2 separate regions of the Homo sapiens genome follow, and region 2 is linked to region 1. Evidence: promoter capture Hi-C in 16 types of primary human blood cells and fetal thymus (Javierre and others, 2016). All regions are on one chromosome and are shown on one strand. Each heading gives the region's core, a stretch centred on a gene start or on the middle of the fragment in contact. The rest is flanking DNA. Distances are from core to core; before and after follow the strand shown.

Evidence for each region. Contacts are between HindIII fragments. The CHiCAGO score rates a contact against its expected background, and 5 or more counts as called.
Region 2: a contact is called between a fragment that was not itself captured here and the fragment with the promoter of DLX6 in region 1, in 8 of 17 cell types (naive B cells, non-activated CD4 T cells, endothelial precursors and 5 more). The highest score is 7.2, in naive B cells.

Annotation. Positions count from the first base shown.
Region 1 is chr7:97,001,591-97,006,830 of GRCh38, reverse strand. It overlaps DLX6 (distal-less homeobox 6), which reads right to left and starts at 1,278. Exons shown (of 3, transcript NM_005222.4): 1 at 418-1,278. The coding sequence starts at 853. All of the region lies in intron 1 of DLX6-AS1 (DLX6 antisense RNA 1), which reads left to right. RefSeq lists a silencer at 428-527 and enhancers at 1,840-2,561, 4,591-5,240. The HindIII fragment of the contact is 12,379 bases long and covers 1-3,538 here.
Region 2 is chr7:95,992,707-95,998,292 of GRCh38, reverse strand. It overlaps DYNC1I1 (dynein cytoplasmic 1 intermediate chain 1), which reads right to left. Exons shown (of 17, transcript NM_001135556.2): 10 at 2,220-2,345. Among named protein-coding and RNA genes, the nearest start is that of DYNC1I1, 220 kb to the right of the region's middle. The HindIII fragment of the contact is 742 bases long and covers 2,031-2,772 here.

The DNA.
Region 1 (5,240 bases), core at 29-2,528:
CCAGCGTGGGCTGGGAAGCAAAACACGCTCCCCAGTTCCGGCCCAGAAATGTCCCCAGCCGGGTCAAACGTGGGTTACAGCCTGGAGGGAAGGAGCAAGGAAAAGGGCGCACAGACCCAGGAGGCTGGAGAGCGCAGTGTGGACTAACTCGTCGAACGAAGCCTGCGCCGGGCCCGGGACTCAGCCCGAACTGCGCGTCGGAAGCTGAGGGTCCGCGGCGGCGGGAAGGGGCCCGGCTGGGAGAGGCCGGCAGGCAGGCGCCAGGCGAGCGGGCGCGCACGGGGCCCGGCCAAGGGCGCGCGGGGCCGCCTGGGGGAGGGGGCCGGCGGAGGCCCGGGCGTCGAGGAAGTGAGCGGGCGGGCGGGGTAGGGGGCAGTCGGGAGGCGGGAGAAGCGAGCTGCCCCAGCGGCCTCTCACCTGTGTCGTCCCCTCGCGTCTGGGCGGCTGCGCTGCTGTTGTGGTAGGACTGGAGGTAAGGGCTGTGCTGCGAGTGGCTCATGTAGGGGTAGGCGGCGAGCGAGCGGTGGTTGTAGGAGTTCCCTCCGCCCGACGCGTAGGGCGAGCCGTGGTGGTGGTGCTGGTGGTGGTGGTGGTGGTGCGAGCCGGCCGCTGCCGCCGCCGCCGCCGAGTGCAGGCAGTGCAGAGGGTAGTGCGCGCCTGCCATGGCCGGGGAGCTCTGCTGCGAGTGCGGCTGCGGCGGCGGCGGCGGCGGCGGCGGCGGCTGTTGCTGTTGCTGCTGCTGCTGCTGCTGCTGTTGCTGCTGCTGCTGCTGCTGCTGCCCGAACTCCATGAAGGCGGATTTGGACGAGTCCTGGCCTTCCAAGCCGTCAGCCATCGTAGTCATGGTCATCATCAAAAACTTTGGGGGCTGGAGAAAGCCTTCTCCCGGGTTTCCTCCACCCTCCCCCACTTGGCTCGCGCCGCTCTCCCCTCTGCAGCCACCTTAGCTCTTTGGATCCTTGCAAAAAAAAAAAAAAAAAAAAAAAAGAATTTAAAGAGGGGGGTGGAGGTGGTTCTCCCTCTCCCTCGCTCTTCTCTAATATATATATATATTTAATATAAAGAGATATAGTGAGCGGGGCCTTGTTAACTCAAAGGGAGGAGGAAGGAGGAGGGATGGGAGAGGAGAGGGGGAGGGGGGAATCTGCTCTCCCCCCGCCTGCTTTCCCCCCTTGGATTTTTTGGGGGCTGGTGCAGTTTAAGGCAGAGATTTTAAGGTGGATTCTGCGAAAGTTGCGCGTCTGCTTTCAGACTTGATGCAGACGCCACGAGTCGAATGGTTTGTCTCCAAAGGGCAGTGCCTCCCCATTGGTCAGTCGCCCCCTGACGTCACAGGCGCACGGCTTCTACTGGCGTGTGCGCGACTTGCAGAGTTCTTCGCCTACCTTCCGCAGTTCCAATCCCAGCCGGAGCTGCAGCCGGGGGCCGCGCTGTGTGGCGCCCGGGGCCGTTGGGGAGGGAGGCGCCTCTGCCCGGCCGGCCGCCGATGCTTCCCGCCGCAGCTCGTGCCCCAAATCCCGGAGCCCCAGTTGCCAATATCTCAGCCTTGAAACAGCCAACTGGGGGCTGCTCTCTTTCAATCCCTTTGCACCCTTGTAGGTTGCCTGTGCTTAGAAGCAGTGACCCCACCCCCGCATTAAATCCAGGCCCCCCTTTCTTGACGTCCCTGCCACTCTGGTCCTACTACACTCTTGTGGGAGCTCCTTGTCACCGTGGATTTTTCTAGACGTATTTTATTGAAACCACAGAAGGAAGACGAACCCTCACACCTGGGCTCCACCCCACTGGGGGGTGGTACAGAAAAAGAAAAATCAGACCCTGTTCTGGCTCGGTCCCTGCCGTTTCAGGCCGTATTTCTTATATATTGTACAAAAGGTTGTGGGGGGGGGGGGCGTCTTTTTTTTCTTTTCAGAACGCAGCAGCGTGTTCTGAAAACGAATCGTTGGAGGACTGACAGTAATGCATTTTTTCCTATTGAAAACAGAAGCTACTGTAATGCTTTCAAATATATGCAAATGATACATGCGGTTAGTGGTTTGGCAAATCTTGATTACAATATAAACTACCCAAGTAAAAGTGCCTTCGTCCTAAATTTGTCTCTCGATTACAATTCCAATTGATTTTATTTTATTGTCAACATTGTTAATGATAAAAATAGAGTCGTTTTACAGTTATTTTTACTTTCTGGAAGGAGGCAATTAGAGTTCTAATCAGGAATACACAAAAATCTCCCATGATTAACTGCAGTACTTTGTTCAAATTGCTGCTATAAAATTCAGAACAATTTGCCTGTAATGATTATGGACTGGGTTTATTTTGGGAGGTGGAATAAAAGTGGATATAGCATAAATTATCCTCTAATTATACACCAGTGTCGCCTCAATTATCCTCTTATCAAAATGGTTGTCTAACTGCCGCATTTAGTTTCAATTCTCTCCTTTTTTTCTATAAAAAGAACTTCATACCTTGTTATTATTAATCCATTTATTATTTGCAAGGGGATTTATATCCGCACATCCAGGTGGTAGAACCACTTCTCTTTCAAAGATGGACTGGGGAAAGACATTAAGTTCGGAGCAGCCCAAGGCTGCGGATCTAGCCTTTCTCCCTCCGGTCTCCAGACCCACGCAGGTTAAGGCAGCCAAGCAGAGACAGCGGAGCCCCGGTGCGTGGTTCAGGCCTGGTCAACAGGTAGGAGGGCCAGACTGGGGGCCAGGCACAGAGGAGGGCAGGCCCGCCCGCACCGGCGTCCAGGGTCCCGGGTTCCGGGTCCCGGGACTGGAGGAGGTCGCCGGCAGCCCGCCCTTCCAGAGGCTTGAGATTGGGTGGACGAGACCTGAAGATCCTCTCGGTCTGGACCCCGACTTTCGATCTGCTTAGAGACCTAAGCCGCGAGCCTTTGCCCACACGGAGAAACGTACTATCTAATATCTAACAACCCTGTACTGCAGTGTCTGGAGGTTGCGGGAAGGAGACAGTGTCTCCCTTTGGGAAAACTACTGAGGACTTCTGTATATCCTACTTCTTCTGGACTCCATAAGTTACAGGACCGAAGGAAACTGAGAAATAGAGAAAAGGTGCCGCTTGCCCCTTTAACTCCAGAAAAGGGTGGCTGCAGATGGAGCAGCTTGGACTTTATTTTTTACGTTGCGCGAAGCCCGCCGGCAGCGGCTTATGCCAATTGATTTTCCCAGCTCCCAGCCCTGGATGTCTAGCTATCTCCAGGACAGTTTGTTTTTTTCTTTTTCTGTCTTTCTTTCTTTCCTTCAATGTATCAGAAGACCTGAAGCTCGCTGCCCGCGAGTTTCCTCCGAGTTCCCAGGTCAGCGGCGTTTGCGCTCCTCTCCCCCTCCTTTTCCCAGCCCGTTGCGCTTAAGTTCTTGAGTCTGGGGAGCCGGTTCAGTAACTCTGAATTCATTTTTAAGTGGCGTGCCCTGTTCCCCACCTTTTAACAAGAGGTGCACTTTAACACGCGAACCAGTAACACGATCTACACGTTTACAAATCGGCAATGAATTAAAACAACAACAGAAAAGCTTCATGGAAAAAGAAAGGTGGGCTAAGTAAGGGGGAGATGTGGGGGGTGGGGGACAGAAGGGAATGTCAGGAAAAGAGAAGATTTCCCACCCCACCTTCCCACTCCCAACCCTAGTGCGCTCTCGGTACACGCGGGCTGCGCGCCGAGACTGTTTGTAATGTCCTCAATACCAGCAGGTAGACGTGGCAGTTTTATTGCTTTATACCCTGCAGCTTGTTGTTAACACCGTGAAGGCGTTTCACCCCCTACACCCTCACCCTGTGCTTGTCTATGTTTTTCGCTTTATGCTCACAGGTGCACCGCTTTCCTCGCCAGCTTCCTGCAACTCTGGCTGCACCCCAATTAGAGTATGTCGTGGCAGGGCCTCGGAAGGTCCCTGCAATTGAGCACTGTATCCAGAGTGCAGCTGCCTCTACTTGCAAGGGGATTTTTTTTTCTCATTTGTTTGATTGCTGAGGAAGCCGGGAAGGCTGGGATTGTCCGGGTTGTAGCTTCAGGGCTCTCAACCTTCCCCTAATAGTTAGTGGCTAAAATCCTTGCACTCTGTTCCAGTGAAGCAGCTGCACTGAGGTGGTAGTTGTGGTGCATGGTAAAGGTCCTGCTGAAACCTGCTGGGCGACCCAGTCTGAGCTCAGAGACAGTCAGGGGCTGGGAAGTGGAACGAGCGAGAGGTCCCACTTGGTGTGATATCTCTGCGCTTGCGGGATGGAATCTAAACTTCAGGCCTGACTATCAGACTTTCCTGCCAGTATCGAGAATGGAAAACTGGAGATAGTGTGACCCGCACACAACATGCCAAGGTGGCGCGCCACGAGTGGCTGCCAGGTGTGGCCTCTGCCACCGGCCACGGCGCATAGAGTTCGCGGCTCAGAGGCTATTTACCGCAGGGCCTCTTCCGACAGTCATTTCTCTCCAATTGAACGCGGCAGATTGGCTTCCCAGTCCTTCATTCCGTTTTCATGGGTGACGGTAATGAGCTGAAGTAAGGCGGTTGGAGTCACTCTTGTTTGCACTAGTCCAGCCCGCACTTCCAACCCTTCAGCAAGGGGCAAAAACTCGGGTTCTTTGGGGCCTTGCAGGAAGGCGCACACCTCAGGGGCTCAAGGCCCCGGCGCCGGGTTAGGCGCCAGCCGGGTCCTGGCTCCTGCTTCTTTGTCTCGCCCGCAGGGGAACGCGGGCCAACCCTTGCGGGTGGGAGGAGGAGGGCGGGCAAGGCCCTCGAAGTCTTTATCATTCAAAATAAAAGTAAACCCTGCAATCTGGAGTAGGAGCCCTAAGGCTCTTTTAGGGCTTGTAGTAAGTGAGGGTCATATTCACTAGGCAGGATTTGAGGCCTAAGCTGCTTTTTGCTTTTTAAGGTGTTGAGATGTTGGAATTTGTATTGCGAGTGTCAATGTTATTTAGAGAGAAATGCTTGTGTATTGCCAACACAAGACCTCCCGGGTCTGCCGGAGGCCACTGTTGGAGGAATGGGCTCTTGGGTCAAAGAATCTCCTGCTGTTCCTGGTCTGGACCGGTGTTTGCTCACGCATGTAGGCCTGGAAATGCTTTGGGGTGCCCGAAGTGGTTTTGCAGCCTCACGGGCTGTAGAAGTACATTCAAACCAGGCAGGACCTGGATGGGTTTGGTTGCTAAGTTGAGCTCAGTTATCACTTTAATTCTAAAGAAATTAGACCTGGATAAATAGCCTTTGAATTCAAAG
Region 2 (5,586 bases), core at 1,152-3,651, 1.0 Mb after region 1:
TTTTAGAATGCAGCCTAGGTGATGGCACGATGTATGCGATAGAATAAGCCTCAGTTCCAGGATTGGCTCTACTGCTCACTAGCTGGGTAACCTCTAAAGTATAAAATCTCTCAACTGGAAAAAGAGAATAATAACATTTTTCTTACCTCCCTGTTGTACAATCAATGAGATCATGAAGGCAGAAGTGTTGGGAAAATTTAAAATACAGAAACACGTAGATATTGCTACAGGTATTACACTTTAGTACAAAGGTAACCAAATTGCCTTTATTATGTTATCTGTCTACCTAACCTCCATCACTATTTCATCTAGGACTTCCCTGGCTGCTGAAAGTTTCCTGATTTTGTCTCCCAACAGTTCAGAAATACTAAATATCATAGCAATTTTGTTTTTCTTTGGCAGCCAGTGATATTTACCTGACCTTTATCCCAACTTCATGAGTATCACCTGTATCAAAGTGCTGACTACAAGTTTTTGGAATCAACTATTTTACTCAGCATCTTTTGGTAACTCTGGTATGACTATCTTGTTACTATATTTAGGGTACCTCTTGCTTTTTTTTTAAAATCACGAGTATATTTTCTTCTCAATGACATATATTGGATCATTAAGGGAGAAACTAAAAAAAATGTTTGTTGGAGAAATGTTTAGTCAATGATCCCAAAGATACACACACACACACACACACACACACACACACACACACACAAGAATGCCCTTTTCAATTAATACTAGTATTAACTATTGTTGTGTGGTAAAACAAGTAATTTACAGTTGATTCCAGAAACCTGTAGTCAGTTAATATAATTAAAATTTAAAAATCATGATAAAGATCATACATATTGATTATAATAATGTATTATTGTTGGATTTTTAAAATCAAAGACTTTCTGTAATATCAAAATAATTTAAAAGGCACTGTTTTTCAAAAATGTGCTTCTCTTTATTTCTTAATCCTTACAGTATTTTCCTGGGAATTCGGCAAACCTTGTAAAACTGAACAAAATTAGGATTTTGTGCTTCTATGTTTACAGAAGGAGCATATCAAGCTGACTTGAAAATCTTAAAAAAAATAAAAGAAAAAAAGAAAGAACCGTTCTTATTTCAAAGGCTAAGAAAATAAAGGTTATTTACCATACAGAACTAGACTTCTTGTTAAGTTGTTTTTGAGACAGCAAATTAGAAAAACATGGCCAGAGTTAGAGGTTACTCAATCAGGTTGAGGCTGGGACTCTATTCCAGCAGCTCCTATTCCCCAAATTATATCTGATAATGCTCTAAAGTCTAAACATATTTTAGTTCAAAAAGATACTTGGCTCTTAGATAGAAAATGGCACTAAGCTTCCAAAAATCAACAGGTTTACCCACCCTCTTCAAATGATGTCTTTGTATTCAGAGTAATCTGCCACTCAGTACCTCTGAATTGTTAACATTTGAGGAACTGCAATTTTGAGCTGAAATGTTTGTTTTTTATTTGCCTGTGCATAATCACAGGATAGGAGCATTAATAAAGGGGTTGGTGTATTGGCCTATGCTGAGGCCTATTATTTAGGCAGAGTCATGGCAACAGAGCAATGCTGAACGTGTACAAGGGTACCATAATTTCAGCCTGTATTGTGTCAAGGGGAAGAGAAGACGTGTCCGCAGAGAGAAGGAATGAAAAATACAAACATATTTGAAATTATCTCTGCATTTTCAAACCAGAAACAGCATCTATATTTCCCAGCAACTCAAGAAATACGAGTGGTAAGTCTTGCCCCATGCCAGCTACAAAAGTATTATCTGTTAAGTAGTATGGCGCCCATAAACTTAAAGTCAGCAAAATCCATTGAACTGCATTTCCAAGAGAGTAGGAGACTTGAAATGGTAGTGCTCTGAGGATGTCCACGTGGGTGGGCAAGCATATGTTGCTTTTAAGCAGAGGAAGTGGTACACCACGATTTCTTCATAAGTGCGAGGTCTTTATAAACTCATCCTCATGGGGGCTGTTTTAAATAGAAAGAAAATGACACACAGTCCCTAACCAAGCTTCCTAACTGTTTGGGGAGGGTTGCCACTTTCCCAAAACATTAGGTTACTGTGGGGGAATTTTCCAAAATTGTCAACAATTTCATTTTTAAACTGAGTTCTTCCTCTCAGCATAAGACAGATGCAATGCAGCACAAACTATATTTGGTCTAGCAGGAGATGTAAGTTATTTTTACTACGCTGACTCCTACCTGACAGTGGAAGACGTATTCTGGTGTGGTTTTCTTAAACTTCATGTTCCAAACCAAGGCCACTCCATCTGGTTCATGGGGAGCATCTTCATTGTTGTTGTAAGAAGCCACCATCAGCTCAGGGTACTAAATGGAAGAGGTCACAAGGATGAATTATGCTAAGATGACAACACAAGGAAAACTTTGTTATTCCTACATACACGTGGTATACTACACAGTGTAAATGGTGCTTTCTGTTATGTTGTGGCATACCTACTATCAGCTTACTGCTGCAACCTCCTGCAATCTTGTTTCTGCCTCCAACACTCTGTATGCGCTTGTCATACTCACCGGTAACTATCAAACTACAAACATCGCTTTACCTCTCCGTATTATTTGACACTTTGTGCTACTCCCTTCCTCTCCTGTATTGGCTTCCATTACATCTTTCTCTCCTGATTTTCTTCCCTGACTTCTCTTTTCAGTTCCTGCAGGTTCTCCTTCTATTACATAAATTCCAAGGAGGGCTATTCTCGCTGAGTAAGTTCATCTACTCCAGTGGCTTTAATAAGCTTAACATGCTGGTAATTTTCAAATCTATATCTCTAGGCTTAATTTCTCTCTGAGATGCAGGTCTTTATATCTGACTGCCTACTGGGGATTTCTCAGGGCTGTCCATAGACCCATCAATTGTAACACATAGAAAAATGATCTCATTGACTTCCACACGAAACCTACTGCTCCTCCATGTTCCCTATTTTAGGGTCTTGCACTAACATTCGCCTGGCCCAGGCCAGCCATTCTACATTATTTATTTATTTATTTATTTATTTATTTATTTATTTTTTGAGATGGAGTCTCGCTCTGTTGCCCAGGCTGGAGTGCAGTGGCCTGATCTTGGCTCACTACAAGCTCCACCTCAGGGGTTCACGCCATTCTCCTGCCTCAGCCTCCTGAGTAGCTGGGACTACAGGCGCCGGCCACCACGCCTGGCTAATTTTTTGTATTTTTAGTAGAGACGGGGTTTCACCGTGTTAGCCAGGATGGTCTCGATCTCCTGACCTCGTGATCCACCAGCCTCGGCCTCTCAAAGTGCTGGGATTACAGGCGTGAGCCACCATGCCTGGCCCATTTATTTTTACTTCTTTCTCTCTCTCACTCCCACACACTAAATTTCCCTATTTCCTCAATACCTTTCAAATGAATATTTTCTTTCTATCTTTAAGGTCAGAGCCTGCTAAATTAATTTCTTATCTGGATGAAGGCAGCAGCTTCATAAATGGCTTCCTATACTGACCTACTCCATTCTCCATCCTTTATCAGGAAGACTTTACAAAATATGTATTTGGCTAAGTCATTCCTCAGCTTAAAATACTTTAATGGCTCATCATTACTTTCAAGGCAAAATGCAGGTCACAGAGGATCCTTAATAATCTGTCATTTTTTGCCTTTCCTGCTTACTCTCCTACAACCTTCCCTCTTTCTCCCCACCTCCCACAGCCTATGACCCAGCCTCACTGGACTAGTTTTGAGGCACACAGGTACATCTCTGTACCTATGAGTCTCATACTCACTCTCACTGGGATGACCCTTTGGTGTTGTTTACATAATTAACTCATCCTTTAAGACTCAACACAGGCATCAAGTCCTCCAGACAATCCTGACTTAACCAACCACTTCCTTCCTTGCCTGTTATCAGCTCCCTTTGTATCATGTGTCTGTCCTGCCAATTAAAGCCCTTGTCAAATGCATTATAATTTTTTTTCTACACCTGTGTCTTTCACTCGATTGCAAGCTCTTTGAGAGTAGGGACTGGTTTTTGTTGACCTCTGAATCCAGGGTCAATTCCTAGCATATAATAAACTTGTGCCAAAATTTCTTTAATTATTTAAAATTTTTAATTTTAGTAATTCTGTGCTCAATAGAAAGGCTTTATATATCATCCTTTGTTGTCAAACAATGCTAATAATTAAAGGCTTAAATGCCAGAAACATAACCAGTAAAATAACAAGAAGGACTCTATAGTGATTCTAGGTATTAGAAAGACCTACTCACCCTACAAAAACTCTGTCCTGAGTGTTACTAAATAAACTGAGGATAAATCTCATAGGAAGTACTTATGAGTTAGGACACATTTCATGAAAATGTCATTCCTACATAGGAGTCTCAAAAGGCAGTCCTATTAAAAATAGTATCAGGATTATGGCAGACCGTATCACTCTCTTCTTATAATTTAATTTTTTCCTCCTTTTTCATTATTCTATACATATATTTAATGGAAGATTGCCTTTATGAATTTGAACACAGATCTTTTTTTTCTATTAAAAATAACTACATCTAAGTCTTATTCATTCTTCCAGCAGCCTCAACTAAAGAAATCTGCAGAGAGTTACAATGTGCTGGTTGTGCAGAGGAAGTATAAGCGTACAGTGACACACATGTATGTGGCCACCAGGGGAAGTAATCATTCTTTATTAAAAAACACTCTGCAGCGGATGAATCAAAGGCCTATTAAGAAAGCCTTTGATTCAAAGCCCATTCAAAGAAACTAACATCCAGATAAACACAGAAGTCTCCAGACTGTCCATCTGAAGTTTAACTATGTCACATGTGAAAAGGCAACTCTATAAACATCAACACCACCACCACAGGGGCTAAGGAGCAGCTAGATGTTTCTGCAATAATATCACCCAGCTGGGTCTCATTGTTGGTACCCACTTGCAGCTTTTCTTTTTCCATTTAAAAATATTTAAAATTATTTAGCTTTAAAACTCCTTTAGAAAACAGGGAGTGCTTTAGTAAAATTACCAGTGAAATGTCATTGGCATAATTTCTATAACTGAGATCATAAGGCCTAAAGATACTGATTTAAATTTTATCTCACGCAAGTTTTTGGGATTTCAAGGTGCCCTCTAGTATGTCTTTTTCCACTGTTTGTTTGAACATGACTAGTCATATTTTCTTTTTCCAATAAAAAATCTCTAAACAATTATTTAATCTTAAGTGTTGTTCGAAGTTATGTTTTTAAAGAGAATATAAAGAATTATGAAATTCATGATCATTTGGTTACTCATAGAGCTGAATTATCCAATACTTACCCTAGGAGAATTTTACCTGGAAATTACCAGATATGCTCTCAACCCCATTTTTTTTCTAACAAATAAATGAAACCTAGTTGGGGCGCAGTGGCTGAGGCCGGCAGAGGTTGAGGCCTCCAACACAGAGGTTGAGGCCAGCAGATCACTTGAGGTCAGGAGTTTGAGACCAGCCTTGCCAACATGGTGAAACCCCTTCTCTACTAAAAATACAAAAATTAGCCAGGTTGTGTGTGCCTGTAATCCCAGCTACTCGGGAGGCTGAGGCAGGAGAATTGCTTGAACCCAGGAGG